Regions from separate parts of the Homo sapiens genome. Here region 1 is linked to region 2. Evidence: promoter capture Hi-C in 16 types of primary human blood cells and fetal thymus (Javierre and others, 2016). All regions are on one chromosome and are shown on one strand. The core of a region is centred on a gene start or on the middle of the fragment in contact, and the rest is flanking DNA. Distances in the headings are between cores, read along the strand shown. Region 1 overlaps MAGI1 (membrane associated guanylate kinase, WW and PDZ domain containing 1). Region 2 holds the start of MAGI1 (membrane associated guanylate kinase, WW and PDZ domain containing 1).

The links. The method cuts DNA at HindIII sites, captures the fragments that hold promoters and counts their contacts. A CHiCAGO score of 5 or more calls a contact.
Region 1: a contact is called between a fragment that was not itself captured here and the fragment with the promoter of MAGI1 in region 2, in 1 of 17 cell types (endothelial precursors). The highest score is 6.0, in endothelial precursors.

What each region holds. Positions count from the first base shown.
Region 1 is chr3:65,771,343-65,776,462 of GRCh38, forward strand. The region is part of intron 1 of MAGI1 (membrane associated guanylate kinase, WW and PDZ domain containing 1); the gene reads right to left. The region is part of intron 1 of LOC107986018 (a long non-coding RNA gene); the gene reads right to left. Among named protein-coding and RNA genes, the nearest start is that of MAGI1-AS1, 120 kb to the right of the region's middle. The HindIII fragment of the contact is 1,906 bases long and covers 1,338-3,243 here.
Region 2 is chr3:66,036,471-66,041,731 of GRCh38, forward strand. MAGI1 (membrane associated guanylate kinase, WW and PDZ domain containing 1) reads right to left here and starts at 2,448. Exons shown (of 23, transcript NM_001033057.2): 1 at 1,526-2,448. The coding sequence starts at 1,838. LOC105377128 (a long non-coding RNA gene) reads left to right here and starts at 2,483. Exons shown (of 2, transcript XR_001740440.2): 1 at 2,483-2,728; 2 at 3,582-3,824. RefSeq lists enhancers at 1-635, 636-1,463 and a silencer at 2,416-2,535. The HindIII fragment of the contact is 5,984 bases long and covers 1-3,692 here.

The sequences.
Region 1 (5,120 bases), core at 1,041-3,540, 270 kb before region 2:
GCAAATATCAGCTCAGATAGTAGGTGAATATGAGGTGGAAAGTCCTAAAGGTGTTTCTTAATTATTTCAGGTAGTATAGCACCATGGGCAAGTGAGTATCTCTTTACAGAACACAGGGAAACATAGAGATATTTTATTTCATCATAAATAAAGAAAATTTTATAACTGTGTAATATAAAAGCACAACCACAGTTTACATGTCTGCAATTTGTTTAAAACTAGCTATCAAAATAAGGTATAACCAGCCTTCTCCAAATGTGATTAATAGTTATTTGCTATTTAGCTTATAATGTTTTATGTTCTGCTAGCATTAGAAAGCAAATAAGCTAGTCAGCACAAAAAATTTTGAAACCTTTAATAAAAAACAAAATCTAATGGATTTAATTTTATTCAATAAGCCTCATCATTATTTGACTCTCCTTCAGCCTAACCCAGGAATCCCCAGTGCTGTATGGAGCATGCTATGAGAAGCAGGGACTAGTTGGAGTCTGAAGTCCATTCTATGAGGCTAGATCATGTAAGACCTTAATTTATGGTTTGACTATTTTAAAAGAATACTGTGGCATCTTTTATAACCTGGCCAGGCGCGGTGGCTCACGCCTATAATCCCAGCACTTTGGGAGGCCGAGGCGGGTGGATCACAAGGTCAGGAGTTCAAGACAAGCCCGGCCAAGATGGTGAAACCCTGTCTCTACTAAAAATACAAAAATTTGCCAGACTTGGTGGTGGGTGCCTGTAATCCCAGGGAGAGGGTGAGGCAGGAGAATCGTTTGAACCTGGGAGGCGGAGGTTGCAGTGAACTGAGATCATGCCACTGCACTCCAGCTTGAGCGACAGAGCAAGACTCCGTCTCAAGAAAAAGAAAAAGAAAAAAAAGACAACAATATAACCTATTAGGCCCAATCCCTTCCTTGTAGGGGCCAATTTCCTCTTTCCTCATCAAAACAGAGACTTTATGAACCTGTGTCTCCCTGTTAACATTGTCAGACCATAGAGAAAAGCCATTCCTTCTTTGTCTCTTCTGCACTGATTCAGGGGGGACTTGAGTACAGCTGTCCATCATGAGACCCTGGCTTTTTCACCACAGGAGTGGGCATGGGACCTGGGATGGCCAATCACCACCAATGTAGGCAAAAGACCTAACTGAGCCAACTGAGTTCTCTGCAGAGAATGATCATGGTGCTACAAGGGAGGGACACCTCTTTCCCTGGGATCAGCAGCCATAAGAAGGAAGTAGGCCAGGAGCTGCCACATGGAGAACACTTCGTGAGAGTGAAGCAAACACAGAGGAAGCAAACAGGGAGCAGAGAAAAGGAAAACGAGACAGCATAAGGATAAGCTTCATAAATCAGGAAGCTAACAAACTTCAGGCTCACTGAGGGCAGTATTGCAGGTAAATGAGTCTAAGTTTGGGACAAGACATGTTTCCAGGGACCTGGTTTTACGACCCAGTTCCTGATTACTGCACAGGCTGATGAGAATTTCTTGCATTTACAAATGACAGAAAAGATGCACAGAAAGCAATTAACAGCATGTGAATTTAAGGAGGGGAAGCAATGGGAGGAGGCAAGAATTGAAAGACTACCAGATGAAAGTTACCAGGAAGCACAGAGGTCATGAGGTCTGCAGAACTGGGTGAAGATACAGACTCCACCTCACACCAGCGTCCTCTTTGATCTACCACGGACCAGTTTCCTCATCTGGTAAATGGCAAAAAAACTCTACCTGCCTGGCAGGACTGTTGTAAGAAATAAATGAAATCATATATGTAAAGTATTCATAAAAGTACCTGACAGAGTAGAAAAAGAGCTCTCAAGTTCTCACCAACCCTGAATCACTATGATGTAGGAGTAATATATTAAAACAACAGCCAACACCCCCAAAAGATTAACAACCTTAAGAGTAGGGGGTCGGGCACCATGGCTCACACCTGTAATCCAAGCACTTTGGAAAGCTGAGGCAGGAAGATCACTTGAGCCCAGGAGTTCAAGACTGGTCTAGTCAACACAGTGAAACCTCATCTCCATAAAAAATTAAAAAATTAGTCAGGCATGGCAGTGCATGCCTGTAGTCCCAGCTACTCAGGTGGCTGAGGCAGGAAGATCACTTGAGCCTGGGAGGTGGAGTTTGCAGTGAGCTATGATGGGGCCACTGCACTCCAGCCTATGCAACAGAGCAAGACACTGTCTCAAAAAAAAGACAAAAAAGAGTGGGGGTGGGATCACTGGTAGGTAAACTCAGAATACACTAGCATAAGGTCTATCCATATCACTCGGATTGTCTGGCTGTGATGCTAATGTATATGCCTTGGAATTCTAAGTTACAGTCTCCTTGTTTATCATCTGGAAGTTCACAAGCCTACCTTCTGGAGAACATGGTGAATTCAGAAGGAAAATGTAACTGTACTCTAATTTGCTTTCTTTGTGTCTCAGACTGCCTTGATTCGAGTGTTTATGCCTTAATCATACTTGAGTCTTTCATTTTAATGACTTTTTTAATTCGATATAAAGATTAAAATTTTTATATCTCATTGTGTTTTCCTTTTAATACAAGTTACTTGTGGTTGCTGAACAAGGTACAAATTAGAACAATTTCTTCCCGGGAACGATATGAAGGAAACTTCACAGGAAGAGAAAAAAATTCCAAAGGATAAACAGGTTTATTACAGAAATTACACACTACAGATTCCCATAATGCTAACCATCCCAGTAACTAAGTGGCACATGGGCATCTGTTTCCATAGCCCCAGATCCACTGGCTAGTTAAAAAAAAAAAAAAATTAATTGCTAACAATAAGGTTTTGTTCTAACATTGGGTGAAACTTTTCCTGGTTATGAGTTTCTATAACTGACATATAATTCCGGCTAAACCAAAATTCTGTTTTACACAAGCAAAGAAGTCCTGAGCAGGGTGAAATGGTAGTTATCATCTTTGATGTTACTGTCAAAGGCGTGGAAGATACTTATCTTAATACCACTGTTGTCTCCACCATCTTCCTGTGATGTTTTTCACCCATGAATTTATTGAAAATGTATTTGAAATGAGCAAAAATTGTGTCCTGTATCCCTCTTGGATAATTAGTTTCTGAAGTCCATGTTTGTTATATATTCAAAATCTTCCTGGGGCAAAATTCTCCTTATTTTGAATGTCCAGGTTTTGGTGGAAAAGAATTCATAATAAGTGCTTTCATACTTTCCTTATAATCCTGTTGGCTTGTGTCCCCTAAAAACTCAGAGTCTACCAAGCTTTTGTTCACATAGTTTATGGATATACTGTGCACCCATTCTTAACCCTGACATTTCACATCTGCTTGCCTAAGAGAAATGGCATACACAAAATGTTTTCCTATTTGGTGATGAACAAGTACATGGAACATATAGATCACAAGTGATTTTTAAGTAAGAGGAAAACAAGAAATTCAACCAAAGAGCCAACTAGTACTGGGCCTATGTTCTGTGCCTAACAAGGGGTTCTAAGATACACTAACTCGCCTTAGGCAATAGGGAGAAGATTTTGATTTCTGTCTTCACTATTGATAGCTACATGAGTCAATTACTTAGCCTTTCTAAGCTTCAGTTATAAAGTTAGGATAAAAATGTTGTCAACATCATGGGATAGTAGTGAAACAAGACAATGTATATGAATTTCATAGTACCCAGCATACAATAAGAGCTCAATAAATATTGGCTATTTTTATTATCATCATCATTCTTATCAACCCAAAGAGCCACATGAATGTAACCTACAGACTGATTGATCTCAAATGCATTTTTTTAATTCTAAAATTTCTGAAATCCTATGAATATAACAAAGTATTTTCAGGCTGGGCGTGGTGACTCCCACCTGTAATCCCAGCACTTTCTGAGGCCAAGACAGATAGATTCCTTGAGTCCAGGAGTTTCAGACCAGCCTGGGCAACATGGCAAAACCCCATCTCAACAAAAAAATACAAAAAAATTTGCCAGGCATTGTCATACATGCCTGTAGTATCAGCTACTTGGGAGACTGAGGCAGGAGTATCATTTGAGCCTAGGACTTGGAGGTTCCAGTAAGCCTAGATTGTGCCATTGCACTCCAGCCTGGGCAACAGAGTGAGACCTTCTCTGGAAAAAAAAAAAAAATTTTTTTAAGTGTTTTTTTCTCTTCTCACCCACTCTGCCAAAAAAAAAAAAAAAAAAAAAAAAAAGCATCTTAAAGAAAACATAGTCCATTATGTGAATGGATATGCAGACAAAAAATGTGCAGTTACATACACCAAAGTATTAACTATGATTATGAAAGGTGATACTATATAGTTCTTTTTAACAGTGGTTTCTGGTCAAACACAGTAGCCCACACCTGTAATCCCAGCATTTTCAGAGGCGGAGGTGGGCGGGTTGCTTGAGCCCCAGGAGTTCAAGACCAGCCTGGGAAACATGGCAAAACCATGTCTCTACCAAAAATATAAAAAATTAGCTGGACATGGTGGCACATGCCTGTAGTCCCAGCTATGCAATGGCTGAAGTGGGAGGATCACCTGAACCTGGGAAGCTGAGGCTGCACTGAGCCATGATCACATCACTGCACTTCAGCCTCAGTCACAGAGTGAGACCCTGTCTTTAAAAAAAAAAAAAAAAGTTTCTAATTATTCTTTGATGAATTTAAATTATTTGCAAAACAAAAACATTAAACAAACATTTTTGCCATAAATCCCGTACTTACTTAGTGTGCCCCAAATCTAGTCAAATAAATTACTATAAGAATTTTTTGTTGTCCTTCCTACTTAGTTTGCAATTTTTGCCACTCCTTTTGAAATAGCTCATCCTCCTGTCTTCTACATAGGTGGTGCAGAAAGTATTTTAAAAATCAATGTAGCATTCTTTACTACTTGCTATATGAAACACTACTGGCATATAGTTGGGTTTCTTTTTTTTTTTTTTTATGGCTTCTGAATGTTTTACATTCCATTAATTAAATCCTACTCTCAATTGTTTTTTTAAAAAGGCCACACAAATATTAATGTCAAAAAAAAGTGATTAGGTAAGAGAATGGAAGATATATTTCCAAAAATTTTTCAAAGCCTCTGAGTCCCAGGAAACACAATTTTTAAAAATGGTAACCCTTATTTAAACACATAATAA
Region 2 (5,261 bases), core at 1,198-3,697:
GTAGACATTAAAGGAGCCCAAAGGAGGAAGAATTTGTGCATCCTAGCAGGATTCTGGAGGGCTTCTTGGAGGAGGTATCCCAGTGGAGAATGAAGTCATAAATACAAGGAGCTTTCCATAGCTAAGTGTCAGCTCCTCAGCTCCCAAAGCTGCTAAAAGGCCAGGCGAGTCGGCCGCCCCCTCCTCCATTTCATCTGGAGCACGCCTGTTTCCAAGAGAGGACCAGCTAGGCCCAGCCCTTCCTTTGACACATTCCTCCAGCTGCTGCCTGTCCTTATGGAAACACATGGGAACTTTTCACCATGTTCAACTTCACGACTTCCTTCGGTGCTTTCACTGGGGAGAACCTGCGTCATGGCACTTGCTTGCACAAGGGAGCCCTTTAAGGGCCTCAGCTGGTCTCCATTGGGTTGACATGAGGACAGCCCCTTGTCTGTACCAAAGTGAGATGTAAGGGACCTACATCACCAGCAGCCAGCAAATGCATCTTTTAAAAGGCCTCTACAGATTTCTGAGAGAGGAATTTGCTTCCACTCCCTCCTCAGGAATCAGCCCCTTCAGTGCGGTAGGGTCATCCCCCCACTCCTTCCTCCTCCATACTTAAGGCTCTGCAGCAAGGGCTCAAACCCTCGCTTTTGGCAACTGTGTGACCTTGAGCAAGTCACTTAACCAGTATCAATCCCAGTTTCCTTATCTCTAATTTGGGGTATATAAATAAGAACAACTCGTTCTTAGAACTGTTGTGAATCGGAGTGAGATAGTGCAAGTAAAGTATTTTACACAGAGCCGGGCATGTAGTAAACCAACAATGAATAGTAGCTTCATTTTCATCATCAATAATGACGATGATGGTGGTGGTGGGAGGGTAAACTTGGACCCGATTCGAGCTAAAAGCAAGCACCCCTTCCCCCTCTCCCCCTCCCAAGTGTATGGCTGAGCCACACGGTGGAGACACATGCGTCATCCGGCTGAGGGGTGAATGCAGGCTCTTCTGGCGGCGGGCTCAGGAACCGCCAGGCAGTGGTGTCCTAGCTCACCTGGAGGGGTCGCGGGGTGAAGCAGATTTTCTGATGGGGGAGGTCCAATAAACTACAGACCCTCTCTTTCTGTATACCCACTCAGCAGGTATGGAAACTGACTCGTGGCCAAAGAACGCCAGCTGCATCCCTCCCCCAAGGAGCCAGGACAGCGTCCACCATGCCCCTGACTCAGTTCCCCAACTCTCTCTCGGGTGCAGGCGAGACTGCGCTGCACTTAGTGGCGGAGATAACAGGTTGGCCAGCCAGGCCTGAGAAACGTCCCCCCGCTACCTTGCGCAAACCCAGCCCCCTCTTCGAAACGCAGGTGGGCAAACAACCCTCAACCTCGCAACAACTTTGTGTATTTCACCGCCACCACAGGGCGCACGGCCTCAACTTCTCTTCACTGCGCTCCGAGGAGGGAAGCAGGAAATCGAGAATAAGGGGCAGCCCACAGACCACCCTCCTTTTCTCGGGGCGCCCCCCAAAGGCGCGCCCTGCCTTACCTTGTCTGACGGCCTTGAAGGTGACGGCCTCCTTGCAGCTGTCGATGACCCCCAGCACGTCATAGCGGGGCAAGCCGGACACCCGGACCCCCTGCACCTCCAGAAGCAGCTCCCCTTCGCCCAGCCTCGGGCCCTCGCCGCCGCCGGGAAGCCCCGCTGCCTCGACCGCCGCCACCGCTCCGACGTACGGAAACTCCCCGTGCTCCGCGCCTCCCAGCACCGTCACCCCCAGCTCGCCCTGGGGTCCCCGCTTCACGGTGCATTCGTGAACCCTGCTAGTCCAGTGGTTCTTCTTCTGGATCACTTTGGACATGATGAGTTACACCCCTCCTCCAAAAAAATAAAACGAGAGACAGGTGCCCCCCACAGCACGAGCCCCCAAGCCTCCGCTTGTTCATGGGAGAAACATCTCTCCCCAAATCACAAAACAGGAGAGAGAAACTTGGCAGCCTCGCTCCCCTGCACACGCTCGCGCACTCAAGCCATCATAAAACAAACTTTCTGGGCTTCCCCGCGAGCCCCGCACAGGCGCCCGCGAGCTTTGTTTGCATTCCGGTGCCTCTGGGTCCACGTTCCGGCGCCCGCCCGTGCTCTCCCGGACCAGAGTCCACTCTGCGCCGCTCGGGTTATTTTTTTTTCCTTCCTTCCTTTCTCTCTTGCCTTTTACAAATGCGGTGCCTCCTCTTTGCCTCCCGCCCGGCTCGCCTCTCCTCGCTGGCAGGCTGTTACTGAGGGTGAGGGAAGCCCTTCCAGCCAGTTGCCGGGAGCCCTGAAGACGCGGTGGCGGGGCGGCGGGGAGCAGGGCGGGAGGTAAGTGCTCGCGGCCCCTTTAAGCAGATACAAAGGCTCGGCTTGTTTTGTTACAGTTCATTCTATTCCGCGCCGCGGAGCGCAGCGGCCGGCGACAGGAGACGCGCGCGCATGCGCCCCGCGGCCGCCAGCCGGCCGGCCCACCCCTCCCCTCCTCCCCGAAGGGAGAGATTCCAACGTGCTTCCCGATGGGTCCTAAAACCGACCTGCCGGGAGAAGGCAACTCCCCCCCAACCCTTCCTGAACCCCTATCCTCTCTCCTTTTCTTTCAGTGCCCTGGACTCCGCGGATTCCTTTGGGGCTGGAGGGCCGCACACGTGTTTTACTCCAACTGTTTGCAACTTTTGAAACCCGGGCAATCTGGCTTTGGCATTTGAAAACCATTTCAAACAGGTGGGGGTTGGGGAGGCTGCCACACTCACCCTGGCGCTCACACTCACGCACACGCGCACGCACTCGCGCCGGCCCTAAGCCTCCTAACCGCCCTCGGCCAGTGGCTGGCCAGGCTGTCGGTCACCCAGCCCGGCTGGTTCGCCGCCCCCCTTGCCGCAGGTCCCACTGAAACCCCCGAGACCCGCCCCGGGGCGCTCGCCGCCTCCCTGCCTGCCCTGCGCTTGCGGGTTCGGGTCCTGGCGCGGGGTCTGCCAGGGTCTCTGCGACCCGGGGGAGGGGGACGGTGGGATCCTCCGGTTCCCCAACTGGGATCCCTGTGCGGGTCACACGCGCTCTTACACACACCCGCATCCTTAAACTTTGGGACCAACTTTTTAGGACACGGGAAACTACAGGCAAGAGAGAGAAGCCATGGTGCTAGTGTGGGTTCAGGTATTCAACCAAAAAAGAGATCCCTCTAGCTTTTCAACTGCCCTGCCAGCAGAGACTGCTGGACCCAGTCAATCATCTGCCCCGGCCTCAAGTTCCTGGCAGGGCCGAGAAGCCTGCGGACCTACTCCGGGGCCAGGAGATAAGGATCCCCGCCGGGCGCGGACATGCCCTGCGTCCTGGCGCCCGCGGGGGCGTGAGAGAACTCGGAATTCGCAGCCCGGGGGTAGCTGCGGCCTCCGGAGGTCGCCCGGGGGTGCGGATGGAGTGACTTCTGTCCCGGCGAGGTGGCGGACAGAAAGACTCCCATACCACAGGAAGGCTGCCCTTCCCAAATACTCCTCAAATCAGGCTGCTGAGTAGTCTCCCCAGCAGTTTGTTTTCCTCTTTAGTGATGTATAATTTTGTTCATCTTTGGTCACAGGAGAGATTCCAAGAAATGAGGGGGGTACGTTGAAACGATGAAGAAAGGATGGACACAGCAGTCGAGGTTGAGAGGTAGGCTCAGGGGTCCACCCTTGTGTGACCTTGAGCAAGCTTGGTGACCTCCGCGCCTCCGTTTCTCGCTGATCAAATAAGTAGAACAAGACCTCACAGGGTTCTTGGAAGTATTACGTGGGAAAACACTTATAAAGTGGCAAATAATAAAAACTCATTATATTCTTAATAGTAGTATTACTATTTGGGAAGAAAATTGGGAAATCATTTGGGGATTCAAGTTAGTAAGTATGATAATTTATCCTCTCCTTTCTAGAACTTAGAAAATATGGGCATACTTTGTGTGTTTGTTTTTTGATGGTGGTGGTGGTGTTTTTAGAAACGTGGTCTTGCTTTGTCCCCAAGCTGGAGTGCAGTAGCTCGACTAGCTGATTGTAACCTCGAACTTCTGGACTCAAGCAATCCTACCACCTCAGCCTCCTGAGTATCTGGAATTATAGGCACATGCCACCATGCCCAGCTAGTTTTATTTTTTTGATTTTTTGTAGACATGGGGGGGTCTCCCTATGTTGATTGCCCAGGCTGGTCTCAAACTCCTGGGCTCAAGCCAACCTCCTGACTCAGCTTCCCAAAGTGCTGGGGTTATAGATGTGAGCCACCATACCTGGTTTAGGCATACGTTTAAACATCCTTTTAAAGCATTGTAGGGTGCTATTCTAAGCTAATAAAAGTAAGGAGGGATGTTGATGCTTCTCTCTTGGGATATCCAGAACTGAAAATCCCATTGCATTGTTGTGTTTCTGAAAAAAGGAGGTGACCAATTTTCCATGGCTTTGCTTGGTGAGAGGAACTTTGTCTCCAGCTTTTTTTCAGAAGCAATCTAGGTCAATATGAACAGCACTTCAAAACATAAATTATCAAACCCGAGCACAGATCCAGCCAATCAGAATGTCAAGGAAGGGCTAAGTCATTTGAACTTTTAAGGTTCCCCTTATGTGTTGTTGGTACACAACGCTGAGCACCATAGGTTTAGTATCTTGATTCCAAAGCATTGTTTGGGTCCCAGACCTTTTTGTCAAATAAACCTGTGATCCACATCTCTGTGTAAAATAAAAACTCAAGGAGGTCAGGACACTTTGACAGTTTGGTTTACTGATGTATTATTCCCAGTTCCTAGAATGGTGCCTCGTACTAGCAAATGCTAAAATATTTGTCAAATGACTCTTTCCACAAAAATGTACATTTTTACTTTCCATGTTAGTGGGGAGTCACAGATTCCCCTGCAAATCATTAGTAAGCTTAGTAAGCTTAGCCTTGTGTGTTTCCCCACTTTGCCACTTCATATTCTAGTAAAGTGTAATTGTTTGCTAAGAATACCCACAACCAACCTTGAATTAGGAGTCCCCTACCTCTCCACTCAACTCTCACCTCTGCCTGGGGGAGTCCAAGGGCTGGACAAGACCAGGCGTTTTGTGATTCCTCCCAATGCAACAACATCCCCCTCTTGCCAGGATTCCAGGTGTCACCACAGCAGCTGAGAAAGGAAAGAACTTGGAATTTAGCATACGTCAGGTTTTAGATGTGGAAAAGCCCCAAAAGAAGGAGTAGTACCTGTGGGCACAGAGGGCAATATGGAGAGAATAGACATTATTCTAATTCAGGAAAA